Linked DNA regions of Homo sapiens: region 2 is linked to region 1. The links are contacts of gene promoters, found by promoter capture Hi-C in blood cells and fetal thymus (Javierre and others, 2016). All regions are on one chromosome and are shown on one strand. The core of a region is centred on a gene start or on the middle of the fragment in contact, and the rest is flanking DNA. Distances in the headings are between cores, read along the strand shown.

Region 1 (2,809 bases), core at 114-2,613:
CTTTGCTGTATCACACAACGAGAACATTCTCTTTTAAGCCTCCTGATATGTGAAGGAGAAAGTCTCTGTTAGGTGCTAATGGGTATTTAACACCTCTCCAAACCTTGCCAATCTCCCTTTTTCACTGAGGGCACACATCTCAAGCCTTGGCAGGCCACGGTTTCCAGCTGGAATTTAATAACCTTGCTTTGTTTTCACTGTGCTTATTTTAACTCTTACTTTCTATTTATGGCAAGTGATACTGATTTCCCATTTAAGGCAGTGATATAATGATTCTCTAAAAAAACGTGTTTAAGGGGTGGGGAAAGTGGATCTGATATTTTAAAAAATATATTAAGTAATAAGTGGTGTGGAGATATGGCCCAGTGAGAAGGCCCGATGTCTGGCCTAGGTCAAGCCCCTCATTTAAAGGTGGGGAGGGAGAATGCAGGCAGGAGACGCAATGCTCAAGGCACCTGGTGTGTCCCCGTCGGCCGTGGTCTCTGAGACTCGCATGCCTCGAAGACCTCTGGCTACTAAGCCTAGGTGACTCCCCGCCCCTCTGGGCGACACGTGCATGGCCCATGTGCCAGTCCGCAGGGTCCCGTGGGCACCGTGAGCTCGGGAGGGAGGCGGCGGCTGGGACAGGCAGGTTGGACACCTGGGAGGGCACCCGGGGACTTCCGCGAAGGAGGAGGGCGCTGGAACCGTGGCGCGCTCGACCTGGCCGGGCGCAAGCCGCTGGAGACCCCGGCCGAGTGGGCAGGCGGCCGGACCCCATGCGGGTCACCTGCGGCCAGGCCGGGCGTGCGTGTGAGCGCGTGCGCAGACGTCAGCCTCCGAGGCCCGGGCCGCCTTCTGGGCAAGGTGCGCGCGCCCAGCGGCCCCGGCCCCACGCGCCCGGACACGCGGAACCGCAGACCGCGGCGCCCCGGAGGCCGCGAAAGGGATGGGCGGGGCCGGGCCGCGGGACCCGCCTCCCATTGGCCGGGCGCCGGGGCGAGGCGGGGCGCCGGGGTGGGGCGGGGCGAGCGGGCTCTGGGGGGCAGACGCTGGCGCTGGGCGGCGGGAGGCGCGGCTCGCGGGGGGCCGAAGGAGCAGGTGGGCGACGCTCGCAGGGGCGCGGGAGGGTGCCGCTGGGACCGTCATCAGGAGCCTGGGGTTCTGCCACCTTTCGGAGGGATCAGCGACCTCTTCGCCCTGCGGGTGACAGTGGGGCATCTGCCTGCGAGAGGGGGAAGGAGGGAGAACCCAGGGCCACACACAAAGTTCTCCTCATCTGGGGACAGGAGGAGGTGAAGGAGGAGGAGCCGGGTTGATGCTAACTTGGAGCTGCGAAACCTTGGGGCGGCGTTCAAGGCCCCCTCCCACACGCGCGCAGAGCAGAGCGCCCTGCTCCTCCTTCAGCTGCTGGCGTCGCCGCGCGGGGAGAAAGAAGCCGTCCCTCCGGCGCTGGGAGAGCTGCAGAGCCGCGGGCAGAGAAGGAGGCCGCGGCCGAGCCCGGCAGCCCGATACCCCCCATCCGAGCGACCCCCTTTGGGGCAGGCGGAGAAGGTGGCATAGGCGACCAGGAGGGTTCGCCCACCTGGGACACGCACCCACAGTCACCTCCAAAGGACCCCCCCTCCCCAAGTCTCTAGGAGCTGCTCCTTCATCACTGGAGTCGCCCCTACCTCTCTGCCCCCAGCCCGAGAGCCCCAGGCGGGGACCCCCGGATCGGACGTCCCCAAGCCTCCGGGCACCTGGCTCAGCAGGAGGCCCCCGGCTCGGGGCAGGGCAGGGCCGGCGGCGGCGAGCCGGAGCCCGCCCCCTGCCCGGGCCCCGCCGAGCCCTCGGAGCCCACCCATGGGGCACCTGCCCCTTGCGCCTCCTTGCCCGGCCGCGCCCAGCCCGGCGTCCCGAGCAGCGCAGGGGAGGATCCCCGCGCAGTGACCCGGGAGCCACCACAGACTCTGGGAGGCTCGGCGGCTGGAGCAGCAGGCAGCTCCCCGCAGCTCCCGGCGCTTCCAGGCAGCTCTCTGAGCCGTGCCAGAGGCCCGGCCCGCCATTCCCAGGTAGGAGACGCCCCAACAGAGCTGGGCATCTGGGGGAAGTGGAGCAGCCGGGAAGAAAGGGTAGAGGCTTGGAGGAGGAAAGCTCAGTGATTCCTTAGATGACCAGAGAAAGTGAAATTGATTGAGCACCTACTATGTGCCGGGATCGTCTGGCAACTTTGCATACCTAGAGAGAATTAAATTCGTTGAGCACCTACTGTATGTGTCAAACTGAGTGCTATACCCTTGACTTAATCCCAGGAAAGAAAGATTTATTGAGCTTCTACTATGTGCTAGTTTTGGTGCCACAGGCTTTGCATTTAAAGAGCTAGAGTAATAGCCCATTTAAATAGGAGGAAACGGGGGCTCAGGGAAGACGAGTCAACTACCACAAACACTCCTGTCCCTCTTCTGGAGCTGGCTGCAGCCTGCATTACCTGGAGGTGGGGAAGGAAGATTAAGAAGCTCCTTCGTTATCCAGAGTTCTTGAGCTTTTTCTGGGTTGGTGCAGAGTGAGTTTCCTGGATGATTCCCTTCCCAGGAGGGGTTTCCTGTAACTTAGCTGTCTTGGAGGGCCCGGAAGGCAGCTCTGGAGGCCTCTCTGTGCCCTCCCCTCCCCTTGTCCCCAGCACCAGGAGGATGACAGGGGATGTTGTCCAAGACCTCATGGAAGGTGGGAAGCCAGGCTGGGAGGGAGCAGCCAGGTCAGGAGCCAGTGAATCAAGCCTCCTGTGGTGTCAGAGACAAGATGGGGTCCCTGCAAGACCTGCGCCTGCATTCCAGTCCAGCCTCACCAG
Region 2 (2,736 bases), core at 91-2,590, 110 kb before region 1:
GCCAAGAAAGAGCTTTTTTCTCTCAGTATCCATTTATCGGTCCCAGGGGAGCTCTCTGATTGGCTGTGCTTGGGCCAGTCATTATCTCCTGGACCAATCACAGTGGCCAGAGAGATGAGATGCCAAGATCAATTGGTCAGGTCCAGATCATTTCCTGCTTTTGTGACCAGGCGGGAAAGGGCCTATCTCCAGAAGTGGGATGAGAAAGCTTGGGCATTCCTACCACAGCCTGTCTGACAACACCTTTACCCCACAAGGAGGAACTATTAGTGAATGCCACACGGGACACTGCTGTAATGAAACACTGAGGACAGGAGATTATGACAAGAGTCCCACAGTTCCTGCTCATGGGTGATCATGCCTGTTCACCACTAATAGCCTGGGAAGGACGCACAACTGTCCCCATCTTTACCCCGACAATGCTTTGGGTGGGAGGGGGAAACTGAGGCACAGAGGAATGAGGAGGCAGGGCGCGGTGGCTCACGCCTGTAATCCCAGCACTTTGGAAGGTCGAGGTGGGTGGATCACTTGAGGTCAGGAGTTCAAGACCAGCCTGGCCAACGTGGCAAAACCCCATCTCTACTAAAATACAAAAATTAGCTGGGTATGGTGGCAGGTGCCTGTAGTCCCAGTTACTCAGGAGGCTGAGGCAGGAGAATTGCTTGAACCCGGGAGGTGGAGGTTGCAGTGAGCTGGGATAGCACCACTACACTCCAGCCTGGGCGACAGAGCAAGACTCCATCTCAAACAAACAAAAAGGAATGAGGAGGAGGCTGGGAGGCAGGGAGAGAGATGGGAGTTTGAATACAGGCCTCCCAATTTGCTGTGCATTGCTGGACCTGGAGGCAGACAGACCTGAGCTGTGTGTGACCCTGGTGAGGACCTCTGTCTCAGAACCCCAGGGGTCCAGTGTGCAGAGTGACAATGACCCTGGCTGTCTCTCAGGGCCGCGGTGGGGCCTCGATGGGGACTTGGTGGGACAGCATGTGCATGTGTGAAGACACCAGAGGCTCCTCCTGGTGCTGGTGGGACTTGATTCCTCAGGGAGGGGAGGAAGAAGGTGGTGGCCACCGGGCCTTTCAGTGAGGAGGCTTCTGCAGAACAACTCCCCCGTTGCTATGGTGACCAGACTCTCGGGGAGTCTGGCTTATTTTTGAACTTGGTCTACACAGCAGCAGCTTTGTTCCCGGGTCTTCCTGCTGCAGCCTTTGTCCTGTGGGCTTGTCGCCTGAAGCCTTGGCACAGTGGGTCTGAGTGGGACACAACCCTGGCCAGGAGGGGCAGGCAGAGGGAGGGGGAGACCCAGTAGGCACCCCCTGCCAGCCTCCCTAACTTGGCCTTGGAGGCGGAGGCCTGGGTTCTAGTCCTGCATCTGCTGCAGGCCTGCTGGGCAACCTCTCGGGCATGTCTGCTTGAGAGGGAAAAGGAGAGGGTATTTTTTGCTGTGCTTCCCCCAGTTGAATGAAAATGGAAGGAAATGGCCGGGCGCGGTGGCTCACGCCTGTAATCCCAGCACTTTGGGAGGCCGAGGCGGGCGGATCACCTGAGGTCGGGAGTTCAAGACCAGCCTGATCAACATGGAGAAACCCCATCTCTACTAACAATACAAAAATTAGCTGGGCATGGTGGTGCATGCCTGTAATCCCAGCTACTCGGGAGGCTGAGGCAGGAGAATCGCTTGAACCTGGGAAGCAGAGGTTGTGAACTGAGATCGCACCACTGCACTCCAGCCTGGGCAACAAGAGCAAAACTCAGTCTCAAAAAAAAAAAAAAAAAAAGAAAAAAAGAAAATGGAGGGAAAATGGCTAGCCCCGATGGGTCCAAGATGGTGTTTGGGACCCCTGCCCTCCCCGGCCTGGATCCAGCTCTTAACAGCCTCCCCACCCACAGACCGCATGGGCCCCAGAGGCTTCATGCTCCTGCTTCTCTGACCTTCCGCAGCTTCCAGGCCTCGCCACTACCTCCACACGCTGTTACATGTGACAGCATCCAGGCTTGGAGTTCAGCCCCTTCCTCAGTTTCCACCAAAGCCCTCTCTTATGTGCAAGGCTTTATTGAAAGCTGGGCAGAAGGGGCACCTGGGGGCTTCACGTTTTCTATGAGGGGGCCCTGCTGTTTCTACTCCTTTGCCAGCGCCCACTGCACCCTGCACATCTCATGGGCCGGGGCTTCTGGCCTTTTTCCATCTCCCTGGCTTCGTGCCCTCTCCCCCTCAATTCCCCCCTTCACTCTTGTGCAGAGCTGCTCAGCTCTCCCCAGCCCTGGCTTTCTGCCCCTGCATCACCTTCCCATGTCCAAACCCATTGGGGCAGGGCCACAGGCCATTCTGGGTCAGGACCCTGTCCTAGGAAGGCAGCCTGGCTGTAATCATATCCCCACCCGACCTTCACAAACAAATGAGAAGGGGCTGGCAAAGTGCCCTTGGGATTATGGGGTGGGTAGAAAAGACGTTTATCTGTGGGCCTAGAAACCCAAGCTTTGCCAGGGGGAGAGTCAGTTCGCAGATGAGGATGGAAGGGTGACTTCACAAAGCCAGATGGAGAGGGGTCCCAAGACTCAGCCTCGCGTCACTAGGGCCACCTCCTTCAGAGGACATGAGGAGGCCATTGGCCTGGATCCTCCAGAAATTTCTCTGAACACAGCCACAAACTTCTGACTTCTGGGCAGGTGATCAGTTGACACCTGCATGCAGAACAGCCCCAGGAGGATGCTGGGCTCTCCTCCCCTCCCCCTTAC

What was found. The method cuts DNA at HindIII sites, captures the fragments that hold promoters and counts their contacts. A CHiCAGO score of 5 or more calls a contact.
Region 2: a contact is called between a fragment that was not itself captured here and the fragment with the promoter of RASD2 in region 1, in 6 of 17 cell types (endothelial precursors, M1 macrophages, M0 macrophages and 3 more). The highest score is 9.8, in endothelial precursors.

What each region holds. Positions count from the first base shown.
Region 1 is chr22:35,539,468-35,542,276 of GRCh38, forward strand. RASD2 (RASD family member 2) reads left to right here and starts at 1,364. Exons shown (of 3, transcript NM_014310.4): 1 at 1,364-2,033. RefSeq lists enhancers at 26-588, 589-1,151, 1,152-1,714 and a silencer at 836-1,055. The HindIII fragment of the contact is 7,504 bases long and covers 1-2,809 here.
Region 2 is chr22:35,434,406-35,437,141 of GRCh38, forward strand. It overlaps a transcript of MCM5 not described here. Among named protein-coding and RNA genes, the nearest start is that of MCM5, 36 kb to the left of the region's middle. RefSeq lists an enhancer at 737-1,238. The HindIII fragment of the contact is 2,268 bases long and covers 207-2,474 here.